Regions from separate parts of the Homo sapiens genome. Here regions 1, 2, 3 and 4 are each linked to region 5. The links are contacts of gene promoters, found by promoter capture Hi-C in blood cells and fetal thymus (Javierre and others, 2016). All regions are on one chromosome and are shown on one strand. The core of a region is centred on a gene start or on the middle of the fragment in contact, and the rest is flanking DNA. Distances in the headings are between cores, read along the strand shown. Region 1 overlaps URB1 (URB1 ribosome biogenesis factor). Region 2 overlaps EVA1C (eva-1 homolog C). Region 3 has its middle 5.5 kb from the start of URB1-AS1. Region 4 overlaps URB1 (URB1 ribosome biogenesis factor). Region 5 holds the start of TCP10L (t-complex 10 like).

What was found. The method cuts DNA at HindIII sites, captures the fragments that hold promoters and counts their contacts. A CHiCAGO score of 5 or more calls a contact.
Region 1: a contact is called between a fragment that was not itself captured here and the fragment with the promoter of TCP10L in region 5, in 5 of 17 cell types (M2 macrophages, megakaryocytes, M0 macrophages and 2 more). The highest score is 9.2, in M2 macrophages.
Region 2: a fragment that was not itself captured here is called in contact with the fragment with the promoter of TCP10L in region 5 in 10 of 17 cell types (megakaryocytes, M2 macrophages, endothelial precursors and 7 more); the score reaches 13.2 in megakaryocytes.
Region 3: a fragment that was not itself captured here is called in contact with the fragment with the promoter of TCP10L in region 5 in 10 of 17 cell types (M2 macrophages, megakaryocytes, M0 macrophages and 7 more); the score reaches 18.4 in M2 macrophages.
Region 4: a contact is called between a fragment that was not itself captured here and the fragment with the promoter of TCP10L in region 5, in 3 of 17 cell types (endothelial precursors, megakaryocytes and M1 macrophages). The highest score is 7.1, in endothelial precursors.

The regions. Positions count from the first base shown.
Region 1 is chr21:32,367,836-32,370,535 of GRCh38, reverse strand. It overlaps URB1 (URB1 ribosome biogenesis factor), which reads left to right. Exons shown (of 39, transcript NM_014825.3): 9 at 1,938-2,133. Among named protein-coding and RNA genes, the nearest start is that of SNORA80A, 8.1 kb to the left of the region's middle. The HindIII fragment of the contact is 4,072 bases long and covers 1-2,700 here.
Region 2 is chr21:32,414,014-32,416,713 of GRCh38, reverse strand. The region is part of intron 1 of EVA1C (eva-1 homolog C); the gene reads right to left. Among named protein-coding and RNA genes, the nearest start is that of EVA1C, 2.7 kb to the right of the region's middle. The HindIII fragment of the contact is 570 bases long and covers 1,016-1,585 here.
Region 3 is chr21:32,397,238-32,399,937 of GRCh38, reverse strand. No RefSeq gene overlaps it. Among named protein-coding and RNA genes, the nearest start is that of URB1-AS1, 5.5 kb to the right of the region's middle. The HindIII fragment of the contact is 7,568 bases long and covers 1-2,700 here.
Region 4 is chr21:32,349,295-32,351,994 of GRCh38, reverse strand. URB1 (URB1 ribosome biogenesis factor) reads left to right here. Exons shown (of 39, transcript NM_014825.3): 20 at 1,073-1,291; 21 at 2,512-2,691. Among named protein-coding and RNA genes, the nearest start is that of SNORA80A, 27 kb to the left of the region's middle. RefSeq lists an enhancer at 169-278. The HindIII fragment of the contact is 4,143 bases long and covers 1-2,700 here.
Region 5 is chr21:32,584,216-32,586,915 of GRCh38, reverse strand. It overlaps TCP10L (t-complex 10 like), which reads left to right and starts at 1,393. Exons shown (of 5, transcript NM_144659.7): 1 at 1,393-1,495; 2 at 2,611-2,700. The coding sequence starts at 2,612. The region is part of intron 5 of CFAP298-TCP10L (CFAP298-TCP10L readthrough); the gene reads left to right. RefSeq lists a silencer at 1,355-1,554 and an enhancer at 2,636-2,700. The HindIII fragment of the contact is 14,271 bases long and covers 1-1,931 here.

The DNA.
Region 1 (2,700 bases), core at 117-2,616, 220 kb after region 5:
AGTGTCTGGCATGTGTTGTGCACTACATAAATATTAATGCTCTCCATTTTATTACGTTGTTGATTAAAATAAAGCATGTGTAGTATTTTTAGCACTCTTTGTAGATTTAATATCCTTTTCATTTGACAGTACAAACTATTTTGTTCATGACATTTTCATATTAGGAAAGGATATTTTCATGTCCTTTTTTAAAGGATAGTTTTTCTGATCAAAATTATACTTTCTAATTTGGTTTTTAAAAAACTTTTTTTACTATATGTAAAGCTCTCATATAGCATTGTAGTTTTACTCAATTTATAAGGGGGATGTGAGACACCGGGGACCCTAGAAACCATCACTGTGTCGTGCACATGAGACAGAGTCTGAGGATTTTCTGGATGTTTTGACTTCACAGGGTCAAGCAGATAGGAAAGGGCATATTTTCTAAAAAGACTTTGAAGCAGATGAAGCCTAGTGTCCTGGGGCTTTGGCTGTGTGGATCCTGGGATTTTACTCCCTTTATGCAAGTTTTAGTCTCTGCAGACTTTCCTGCTTCTTACTTTTTTTTTTTTTTTTTTTTTGAGATGGAGACTCGCTCTGTTGTTCAGGATGGAAGGCAGTGGCACAGTCGTAGGTTACTGCAGCCTTGAAGTCCTGGGCTCACCTGCTTTTATTATCTTTTCATACCTTTGAAGACTGTCCACTTTGAGATAACTTTTCAGTATTTTTCTACGGTAGATTTTTTCCACATCCTAGCTTCTTTCATCTGCTAAATGAAAATGAAGGAATTTGAAATAAGCTAGAAACAGGGAAGGCAGAAGGTCCATGCAAAGACCTCGTGCTGTCTTGTCAGATTTCTTGTCAAGAAATAATTTAATGGCGCTCTGGACCATGCAGCAACTCATGAGCAGTTCGTATAAAAAAAACTTTATTTCCAGATGTGGTGGTGTGCACCTCTAGTCCCAGCTACCCAGGAGGCTGAGGCAGGAGGGTCACTTGAACCCAGGAATTCGAGGCTGCAGTGAGCTATGGTCACGCCACTGCATTCTGGGTGACAGAGCAAGACCCTGTCTCTGAAGAAATAATAAAAAATTTTAAAAATTAAAACAAATCCCCCTTTCAAGAGAAAAATGTCTTATCTGCATTTTTTTACACTCACACTCACATATGTATTTACATAGTGCTGTTTTTTTCAGATGGAGTCTTACTCTGTCACCCAGGCTGGAAGTGCAGTGGTGCAATCTCAGCTCACTGCAACCTCCACCTCTCAGGTTCAAGCAATTCTTCTGCCTCAGCCTCCTGAGTAGCTAGGACTATAGGCAGGCACCACCATGCCTGGCTAATTTTTTTGTGTTTTTAATAGAGATAGGGTTTCACTATGTTGACCAAGCCAACATAGTTCAAGGCCAAGGTCTTGAACTCCTGACCTCAGGTGATCCTCCCACCTTGGCCTCCCAAAGTGCTGGGATTACAGTTGTGAGTACCACAGCCAGCCCTACATAGTGCTTTTTTTGTGTGTGGCTGGAGGAGGAACGTCAGTAAAATCTCAAAATGAAATTTGGGGCATGGATTCCTCCCTGCTGGTTTTGTCCTTTCTTTTCAGTAGCCTTGACTTCTAGGCAGACTGGTAGGTGGCTGAGGTAGAGCGAGAGAGAATGGTTTTCTTCCTTTTCTTTAGAAAGCAAATTGAACTCAAGGGAGGGAAGTAGGAAAGAAGAAAGATCGCAGGACAGAGACTTTTTCAGCCACTCAGAAGTAGAGGATGAGAGGGAAGCCCTCTGTGGAGAGCTGGAACCCCCAGGCCACGGAACCCCCACTTTACGTCCTGGGGGAAATTCCCTACGTTGTTATTGCTGTGTTCACTGAGGGCAATTCTGCAGAGCTGCACGTCACCATGAGCTCTCAGGGTGCTTTGACCATTTTCTGCTGACCTCTCCCCATGTGTCTTTCTCTAACAGAGGCGGAAACCTGACACTCTTGCACTTCTTGCTGGGTTTGAAAACTGCAGCTGATGATGATCTGGTGGCTGACCTTGTGGTAAACATCCTCAAAGTGTGCCCGGACTTACTGAACAAATACTTCAAGGAAGTAACGTTTTCCTTTATCCCACGAGCGAAGTCTACTTGGTTAAATAATATCAAACTACTAAACAAGGTAAAAAAACATGATATTTAAAAGTCTGTTAGCTAAGCTGGGCGTGGTGGCTCATGCCTGTAATCCCAGCACTTCGGGAGGCCGAGGCAGGCGGATTACCTGAGGTCAGGAGTTTGAGACCAGCCTGGCCAACGTGACGAAACCTGTCTCTTACTAAAAATACAAAAATTAACTGGGTGTGGTGGTGTGCGCCTGTAATCCCAGGTACTTGGGAGCCTGAGACAGGAGAATTACTTGAACCTGGGAGGCGGAGGTTGCAGTGAGCTGAGATCGCGCCACTGCACTCCAGCCTGGGTGACAGAGCGAGACTCCATCTCAAAAAAATAAGTCTGTTAGCTAGGTAGGGGGGCATAGGGAGTTAGGGGACAGGCAGACATTCTCATCTGGTAAACTATACAATATGAAGACCTTTCAGGGATAAAAAGGGATATTTTAGACCATGTAAATTTGGTGTCCTTATCTTCTATAGCGTTTTGCCTTTCACTGAGCTGAATTTGAGGTTTATTTAGAATCTTTTGAGCCAATTTATCCTGTTCATCAAGATTTTGCTTAGAGTGAAATCTTGTT
Region 2 (2,700 bases), core at 51-2,550, 170 kb after region 5:
CTTCCTCCCCACCTCTACCTAGAAGCCCATCAATCACTTTGAACTTCTTGGAGAAAAAAGGAAACAAAAGAAAAAGAAAAGGAGAGGCTGGGTGCGGTGGCTCATGCCTATAATCCCAGCACATTGGGAGGCCAAGGTGGGTGGATCACTTGAGGTCAGGAGTTCGAGACCAGCCTGGCCAAAATGGTGAAAACATGTCTCTACTAAAAATACAAAAATTAGCTGGGTGTGGTGGTGGGTGCCCATAATCCCAGCTACTCAGGAGGCTGAGGCAGGAGAGTTGCTTGAACCTGGGAGGCAGAGGTTGCAGTGAGCCGAGACTGTACCACTGCACTCCAGCCTGGGCAACAGAGTGAAACTGCGTCTCAAAAAGAAAAAAAAAAAAAAAAAAAGAAAAAGAAAAAGAAAAGGAGAGAAAGGAAAGAAGCAGGGAGGAAAGAGAAGACCCAGCTTACCTTCAGCAGAGAAACAACACAAATTAGAAGCACACACACACACACACACACAAAACAGTAAGTACTGAGGGACCATCACAAACTAAATACAAGAGACACACTGAAACACCACTCTTTAAGGCAAAAATATGAGGATCCCTTGCTTTTTATGGCTGCTACTCAAGAGGGCACCCCTCCCTCCTCTCAGCACTCATCCTCAAGCTCCAGCTCCCTGTCTTGTTCTCTGAACAAAGAACTATGGGCATAGCATTATACTTCTGGGGTTTGTTTTGTTTTTTAAGTCAATGATGAATTTAGACGTCTCAAGCCAAATCCTCAATTTGAGAATGCAGTCAAATGAAGAGAACTCTATCCCAAAGAGGAAAGTGGATGAAAGCCAAGCACATTTGAGTATGAGATTAAGGATCAGAGGCACTAATTTTGCATGAACTTCTCTTGCCTTCGCTGGGATTCATTTTTAATGCAGTGATGATAGCCTTCCAGTGGCCGCTGGCGACATCTCAAAATCTTTGGAGATGAGAGAGAAGGCGGTGTTTGGGGAGCCTGTTTACTAGCAAGCTTGGAGGTGATTAGAACAAGTCACGAGCATGGACAGGGAGGAGGAGGGGGCCATGATGCTGCCTCTGGCTTATTAAGAGTGAGATCGATGCTGGAATCCCTGAGGGCAAAAAAAAATCAATGACCCAGGAAAACGACACCAGCTGACAGCCCCAGGAAAAGGCTCAAGGAAGAGCCGCAAAGAAGAGAAAGGCTTAAGGAACTTTCCAAAACTCTGCACTGCTAATCTCCTGGGGGGAGAAAGGGGCCTATATTGTACAGACAATGGCTGGGACCCCTGACATTCTGGCACTTTCTTTCACATGGATACACCATCCTCCCTCCTCCTTCACAGGGCAGAGGGATCCCAAGTTTCCTCTATCCTCTGCTAGTTTTTGATGTTCCCTTTATTTAGAAAAACAGGCAAGTATCTGCATTGTCAAACACTGCTCTCTAGCCCTGGTTATTGTGATCAGGCTCTGCAGGGGAGGATCCACTGTCTCCTTCCAGGCCTCAGTTTTGGTTTCTATGCACTCCTTCAAGTTCATAAAAAGGAACAGGACCGACTGTCCCAGGAACACAGGCGGCAAGCTTTGAGGCCACATGGGGTTCGCGTCAGCTGAAACACTGAACCGAACAATAAGATGGTCATCTTTGGAGCTTAGGAATTTGCAGAGGGAGGGCGGCTAAAATCCAAGTCAAATGAGCCAACTTTGGAAGATGATCTTTCTTTCTCCCTGAGATTTTTCTAATATTTCCCTGACCTCACATGATATAGAATTAAGGTTTAAATTTAAGTGCATCAGTGGTTTGGGAGGACATTATATTTCCTTTCTTCTCCCCAAAAGGCTTCTGACATGTTCTGCCTAATCTTCAGATCTCTGGAGAGCATCACTGATGAGAGGAAAAATGGGGGCTCGTTGTGGGTGGCAATATCACCACCTACTGCTGGCTCAGGGAGTTTGAAACCCTGGAATTTAGGTTCGTATGGAAAGCAGAAGAAAATGCCTTTTATCATTTATACTATTTAGAATAACATGTATCAAATCATTCATTTTACTAAGGAGTTGATAGCTCAACTCCACTGTATGTAACAGTTGCTAGATACAGACAATTCCAAACTTGGGTGGTAATCTATAGACTGTTACAAGTATTGCAACTGCTTCCCTAAAGCAACAGAACTCTAAGTGTCTATAATCTGTGAAAACAATCTAATGGTTACACTGCAATTTGCCTAAAGCAATATTTGTTCAGTTGCAATGATGTCACAAACACAAAAAGGCTTGTCAGTTTTCAATTATTTCCTTAGAATTCAGAGCTAGATGGTGGCTGAACTCAGAACTGCTTTCCATAGCTCAAATCAGCTAATACAGAGCTTTTCTAGCAGCCAAGAAAGTTCTAGTAGTACAAAAAAAAAAGTTAATAGCCCTTGAAAAGTCTGATGCATTTCCCCACAACTCTTACCACAGAGTTCTGATCCTGGGATGCTTGATTTTAAGGGCCGTGGGTGGCTTGCCAAATAGGCCTTATCTTGGCTTCCTTTGCTAGGTAGGAATACTGCCTTGATATTACATATTCAAAGCAAAGAACCTCTGACCTAAGGGCTCTCCACTAACAATGACATTCTCTGTAAGTAAACTAGAACCCCATCTCAACTTCTGGTTTGCCCTTGTTCTTTGCTATGTACTAGCCTACTGCACAAACAGGA
Region 3 (2,700 bases), core at 50-2,549, 190 kb after region 5:
CCCTGGAGATCTGTGGTTCCAAATTGCTCCCCAACAGGGGAAGAAATGTCCCAACCTCCCAATGAGAACTGCAAAGTCAAATTGCAAAGGGGCATGAATTCCAGGGTGGGAGGAATTTGTGACCATATTTTGTAATCTACCACACCACCCTTCTCCCACTGATTTTGGTGTTGTCTTGATCACATATCACATTTCTATAATGGTCTCCAGGTTCATCTATGTTGTCAAAAATATCAAGATTTCCTTCTTTTTTTTAAGGCTGAATAATATTTCATTGTATACTAAATACCGCATTTTTTTTTAACCCATTGATTTGTCGATAGGCATTTAGGTTGCTTCTGTAAATTGGCGATTATGAATAATGCTGCAATGAACAGGGAGTGCAAATATCCCTTCAATAACCTTATTTCAATTATTCTGGGTGTCTGCTGAGTGAAAGAAGCCAGTTACAGAAGGACAGGACTCATAAGCAGTACCTAAAATAGTCAAACTCATAGAAGCAGAGAATAGAATGGTGGTTACCAGGAGCCAGGAGGTAATTCATCAAATCATATACAGTAAATATGTGCCATTAGACTGCATATCAGTTATACCTTAATAAAGCTGTTTCAAAATTAAAAATAAAAAGTTCCTATCTATGCATAGGTCTTTGTTTTAACTACACTTTTCTCTTTCTTTTTTTCTTTCTTTCTTTTCTTCTTTCCTTCCTTCCTTCTTTCTTTTTTTTGAGACAGGGTCTCACTTTGTTGCCCAGGCTGGAGTGCAGTGGCACGATCTTGGCTCACTGCAACCTCCACCTCCTGGGTTCAAGTGATCCTCCTGTCTCAGTCTCCCCAGTAGTTGGGGTTACAGGCATGTACCACCACGCCCAGGTACTTTTTGTACTTTTAGTAGAGACGAGGTTTCACCATGTTGGCTGAGCTGGTCTCGAACTCCTGACCTCAAGTGATCCATCCACCTCAGCCTCCCAAAGTGCTGGGATTACAGGTGTGAGCCACTGTGCCTGGCCTTGACTACACTTTTTATTTTGAAATGATTCTAGATTTGCAGAACATTTGAAAAAAATTCCATACACTCTCAGCCAGTTTCATCTGATGTTTTACATTTCTCACGGTTGTAGGGTACATTTGCTAACTAAGCAACCAGCATTGGGACGTTACTATTAACTAAACGCCAGACTTTATTTTATTTGCGCTGTACTAGTTTTTCCCCTTCTGGCCTTTTTCTGCTCCAGGGTCCAGTCCAGGGTACCACAGTGCATTTTATCATTGTGTCTCCCATCACATCTGGTCTGTGGTCGTGTTTCAGTTCTTCATTGCTTTTCATGACCTCGACAGTTTTAAAGGGTACTGCTCATGTACTTTTTAGACTGTCCCTCAATTTAGGTTTCTCTGATGTTTTCCACACAATTGGGCTGGGATTTTGGGTTTCGGGAAGGATATACAGAGGCAAAGCATCTTCATCACATCACTTCAGGGGTACATCACAGTAACATGATTTATACATGACATTAACTTTGATCCCTTGGATAAGGTAGTGTTTGCCATGCTTCTCTATTATAGAGTTATCATTTTTCCCTCGTCATATTCCAGTATTTAAAAGTAGGTCACTAAACCTACACTAGGGAAGTGGGGAGGAGTATTTGAATTAAGCTCCACCTCTGGAAGCAGGAAGTATCTACATGTATTATTTGGATTACTTTTGTAAGGAAGATTTATCTCTTCTCCCCCATTTATTTACTTAGCAATCAATTTATTTTTATTTTATTATTATTATTTCTTTTAGAGATGAGGTCTTGCTAAACTGTTGCCCAGGATGGACCCAAACTCCTGGGCTCCAGTGATCTTCCTGTCTCAGCCTCCCAAGGTGCTAGGATTACAGGCATGAGCCATCATGCCTGGTGATCATCATTTTTTATATCAGTATAGACTTACATATATTTACTTTTTACCCTAGGTTATAATCCAATGCTATATTATTCATTTTGTCACCGAAACTGTTCCATTGGGAGTTCTTTCAAGTTGGTTCCTGTGACTCTTTGACATAGCTCCATTCTTTTGTTTTTGAAGCATTTCTTACTTTCTGGTACTACAAGATACTCCACACTCACCTTATGTGTTCCCTGTCCCAGCCCTAGAATCAGCCATTTCTCTAAGGAGTCCTGGTTCTTTTTATTTTTATATTTTTATTGTGTGTTTTTTTTTCTTTTTTCTTTTCTCTTTTTTTTTTTTTTTTTTTTGAGATGGAGTCTCACTCTGTCACCCAGGCTGGAGTGCAGCGGCACAAACTTGGCTCACTGCAACCTCCGCCTCCCTGGTTCAAGCAATTCTCCTGCCTCAGTGTCCTGAGTAGCGGGGATTACGGGTGCATGACACCACACCCAGCTAATTTTTGTATTTTTGATAGAGATGGGGGTTTTGCCATGTTGGCCAAGCTGGTCTCGAACTTCTGACCTCAGGTGATCCACCTACCTTGGCCTCCCAAGATATTGGGATTGCAGGCATAAACCACCACACCCACCCTGGTTCCTTTTATTTGATAATGGTATTAGAAACCAAGATCTGGGCACTGAGTGTGCTCATTGCTTCTGGGGTGTGACTGCTTCTAGGCCCTACCAGTGAACAGAGCTAGGAAATATATGCTTGTGTACAAACCCAGGTAGAATATGTATTTATACTTATTTCTGTACCAATCCATCTC
Region 4 (2,700 bases), core at 14-2,513, 230 kb after region 5:
TTGGCCGTTTAATCCTTACTGTAACTCTGAGAAGTAGGCCGGGACTCTCACCATCCTTTATGCATATGGGGAAACCGAGGCCCAGAGCGGTTCCAACACCAGTCAGTGGCGGAGTCAGGATTTGGCCCAGGCAGTCTGGCTCCAGAGCCCTGACCCATAATGTTGCCACCTTCCCCCACACGTAGGCCACAGTGATAGCCAGACAGCAACTTATGTGGCAGTATTAGAGGTTCTGTCCTGCCCCTCGTGGTTGCTTGGAGTGGGTGTCCACCTTCTGTGGAATAAGACTTAGCAGTGGTTCTCACCCTCCAGGGTGTGTCGGAATTCCCCAGAGGGCCTTTTCAAACTGGACTGCCGGGTTCCAGCCACAGTGTCTGGCCCGGCAGGTCTGGGTGGAGCCTGAGAATTTGCATTTCACACATGCTGCTGCAGGCCTGGGGAACACTGACAACCACCAAGTTTCAGGGCATGTTACAGCCTTGGGTTTTATTAGCCTAAGGAAGTCAAATGGAATTATAGCAACATAAGCCACGTGGAGTAAATAAAGAAGGCAGCTTGGTAGTAATGTTAGAAGAAATGAATAACTTCAGTTTGAGGCAGAAGGGCTCCAGAAATTTCTCTGTGTTCTGCCCATCTTCTGTCCTTCTAACAAGATATTCGACCCGCAGCTCCTGGGGAAGGTCTTCCGAAGGCAGGCCACTCGCAGAGCGGGCTTCTCTGTGGGCTGATTTCCCCCTTTCTAGTGATTCTTGTGATTCACATCCTGCCTCTGTCACACGTGGCTCCTGCCTGTGGGACAGGCTTCTGCCTTGTTCTCCAAGGGGTGTAGATGCAGCATGAATTTGGGCCTTCACATGTGGTCAGTGGAAACGCTCTAGGAAAGTACGCATGACATGGTACGAGAACTTACTCTACTGAAGTAAAATGCCACACGGTCCCGTATTCGTTAGTCTTATCTCAGCATGTGCTTCTTTGTGAAATGTCCGTTTGTTGTGTGTTACCTGTGCCTATGACCGTTTTCATCTGTGGTGATGTGTCTTTCTCTTCCCCGGCCTTTTGCTGTCTCCCTCAGCTGCTGCAGGCACAGGGCAGCCCCTCGCCCCCTGCCCTTCCCTTGGCCTCGTCCTTCACAGCCCTGCTGCAGGCAGCCTACGAGAGCCAAGCGCTTCGGGACGAGCACATCCAGGTGCAGCTGCAGGCCACCATGCCACACCTGTCCATGCAGCAGGTCCTGCTCGCGGCCAAGCAGGTGTTGCTCTACCTGCGGAGCACTGTGGAGAACTTCGGCCAGGTCAGCGTTGCCCCCATCCTCCACAGGCTTCAGAGCTCTGCCACCAGAGAGCTAAGCCTTCTCTGAGTCGGGCCCACAGCCCAGCACACTCTTGCTCCCTGGAACTCACTGCAGAGGCAGTTTAAGTGCTGTTCTGTCCAGACCTCAGCTGCAAACTCTTCATGTCCCTCAGCCCTGCCCATGGGAGCCAGGTCAGCCTGACTTTGTTTTCAGGGCAGCCTGGTCAAGACAGAGCCCTTCCTACAGTAGAATGGGTTGGCAGCCCTGCCGGGCCTTTGTTTTTTTTGTCACCAAGTCTGGAGTGCAGTGGCGCATCATAGCTCACTACAGCCTTGACCTCAGTGGACTCAAGCCACCCTCCAACCTCTCAGCCTTTCAAGTAGCTGGGACTACAGGCATGCACCACCATTCCCAGCTAATTTTTGTGTTTTTTGAAGAGATGGGTTCTCACCATGTTGGTCAGGCTGGTCTCAAACTCCTGGGCTCACAGTGATCTGCCTGCCTCAGCCTCCCACAGTGCTGGGATTGCAGGCATGAGCCACCGCACCCAGCCCTCCCTCCCTCTTTTTTTTTTTTTTCTGAGACAGAGTTTCGCTCTTGTTGCCCAGGATGGAGTGCAATGGCAGGATCTTGGCTCACTGCAACCTCTGCCTCCCGGGTTCAAGCTGTTGAACCCTCAACAGCAACCCTCAGCTCACTGCAACCGTCAGCCTCCCTAGTAGCTGGGATAACAAGTGCACACCAACACGCCTGGCTAATTTTTGTATTTTTAGTAGAGATGGGGTTTCGCCATGTTGGCCAGGCTGGTCTTGAACTCCTGACCTCAGGTGATATACCCGCCACAGCCTCCCGAAGTGCTGGGATTACAGGCGTGAGCCACTGAGCCTGGCCCAGCCCTCCCTCTTAAGTGTATTAATTTAGTAACTGGCTGATGAATTTCTGTTCCTGATGTGGTTCAAGGGATTTTTAAGTTTTGAGGTGGGCCTGTCCCTTTCAGTTTAGTCAAAACAACCTTTGTGTTTCACCAAGGCTTAGGAAGACACATCTCTTATTTGAGAAATGGCATTGCATTGATGGGTGTCTCACACACTCTGTGAGGAGTTGCCATCTCAGCCTGCCTCCCGAGTCTCCTGCTCTGAAAACACGGGCCCTGGAAGTCACTGCCTGGTAGCTGTGAACCCGTCTCTTCCCTGCTGAGGCTCGTGCTCTTGTCCTCACAGCTGGGCAGAAGTGTGGGCCCGCCCCTCCTGCAGCTCTTCCTGGATCTCCTCAGGCGCCTGGTTGTCCACTGTGAGCAGCTGGATGCCCAGAACCAGCAGAGATGCGAGGCCGCCCGGGCCGAAGCCGACCTCTTCCTGGACATGGAGTCCGTGGCCTCGCTGGAGTTGGCCAATGATCAGGTACCGCCA
Region 5 (2,700 bases), core at 144-2,643:
ACACACCTCAGGACAAACACCCACTCACACACCCCAGGACCCAAGCACAACCCCTCACACACCTCAGGACACACACACAACCCCTCACACACCTCAGGAACCCATATAAGGAACCCACACACCTCAGGCTCATACACACAAGCCCTCACACACCTCAGGAATCCACACACAACCCCTCACACACCTCAGGGTCTCACACACAATGTTGACACACCTCAGGGTCTCATACACAAACCCTCACACACCTCAGGACCCACACAATTCATCACACTTCTCAGGACACACATAAAACCCCTCACACACCTCAGGGGCCCATACATAACCCCTCACACACCTCAGGACTCACACACAATCCTCTCACACACCTCAGGACTCACACAACCTCTCACACACCTTAGGACCCACACACAACCACTCACACACCTTAGGACCCACACACAACCTCTCACACACCTTAGGACCCACACACAACCACTCACACACCTTAGGACCCACACACAACCTCTCACACACCTCAGGGACCCACACACAACCACTCACACACCTCAGGACCCACACACACCTCATACACCTCAGGGACACACACAACCCCTCACATACCTCAGAAACCTATATAAACTCTCACACACTTCAGGACAAACATACAACCTCTCACGCACCTCAGGACACACACACACACACTCGCACACCTCAGGACACACACACACACTCTCACAGTTAGAATGACACATGGGGACAAAAGTGCCTTCTGTTTCCTCTTTGTAGTATTCTCTTCATTCATTCATGACGTCGGCATTTACTGCCTATTGCATGCGAATCGCTTGCAGAACTATCCAAGTGACACACGTCCCAAGCAGGCTCAGGTGAGCCCCAGGTGTATGTTGTCCACACGCAGCACCATGGATGAGAAGGACAGCCAGGGTTTAACAGGAATATCGACTCTTGCTTGCTCCTCATTCTCTTCTCTATCACAAAAATCACACGGACAATTCAGATGGAGATGCATTTAGTGAAATGATGAAACTTTGAATCCTGTCTCCTATTTAAACTCACATATATTATTTTCCCTTCATAAAAATGTTTTTTCTAGTAAATAATTTGATATCCGAAGAAAGTTTGTATTTCTCCAAGAATGTATGCTCAGAGAAATGAGCTCTTACTACACGTTGCGTATTGAAGACTGGATATAAAACACATGGTTTTTGTCAATTTGGAGGAGTAGTTTGACTCTCTCCAATGTCCTTTGTGGATGGATGGACTCCACTGACGATGAGCTTCTATATTAAGAATTGCAGGTTTGGGGATGTTTAATTATTATCTGAGCTGGTACAGTGGTGACGCTGAGTGAGACGTTCATGTCCCTTTAAGACAGAAAGTCCGTTGGAACTGTCCGCTGCTCTCTGGTCTCTGGATATGAGGCAGGAGGGCTTGGGGACAACTGTGGGGACATGGCCCAGATGATCTGATCCTGGCAGTAGTGACTGTTGGGGACCAGGTGAGGTGACGAGGTCTGGTGGTGGGGCTGAAGGAAAGGGTCTTCCCTGGACTGAGGGGGTCATGAGTTTGGGGCCGAGGACACTGGGGTGTCCCCTCAGAGGAGCAGGAAAGAAGGAGCTTTCTCAGGGCTGTGAGGACCGTGACCCCAGCCCACTTCCGCAGAAACATTCCCAGTCTCCGCGGGGAAGGAATGGCAGTGATCTGGTTACTGGTAGGTCTTGCTCTAGACCTTCGATTCGCTTCCATCAGGAGACTCTCTTTTAAATAGCATTTCTCCGATCACTGTGGTTAAACTGTTCCTTCTCACACAGTTAGAAGTTTATGAATTAAACAGTCGGGGTTTCGTTGGGGGCCACTGGCTTCCTAAAACGGACAGGGCAAGGCAGGGGTGGAGGCAGCTTTCAGAGACGACCCTGCAGGCTTGCAGGAAAGCTTTGCGTTTTTCTCTTTCGTTTTTGTTCTCTAATTGCTGTGAACTTCCTAGAACTGGCATAAATGCTGTACCTATAAAAAGGTGTTTCCTTTCCACATCTTCACCATGAATTCACAAATGTCACCCTGATGGTTCAAGACACATACTCAACACGGTGGAGGGTCTGCCTGTGCCCCTCCAGGTGGGTGCTGATTAAAGGGCTGAGAATTCCCTCGGTGTCTCATGCGACCCTCCACTCACACCTGCTCACACCCTGAGACCATTCCACTCACACCTGCTCATACCCCAAGACCATCGTGCTCACATCCGCTCACATCCATTCACATTCCGCTCATATCCTGCTCACAACCCACTCACATCCCACTCACACCGGCTCACACCCCACTCACACCCCTCTTTGGATGACTGGAGTGTGTTAGGTGTCAGGCTGATCTTCTAGGATCTAAAGCATTTTCCACGGAGGATGGTGGAGAGCCAGGTGTGGACAGCTCAGTCCCTCTGTCTGTGGTGTCCTTTCACCTGGTCAGCTTCGGGCCTGGGAATGTGCACATGACCCAGGGGGAGAAGGAGCGGCTGCGGGTCCTGCTCACCCTTAGTTTGGGGCTGGGGCCTTCAGCCCACACTGACGGGGTAGGAGGGCTGCATTCAAGTGTCCCCATAGCCCTTCCCTTCCCAACCAGGATGCTGGCAGGTCAACTCGAGGCCAGGGACCCCAAAGAGGGCACCCACCCAGAGGACCCGTGCCCAGGAGCTGGGGCTGTCATGGAGAA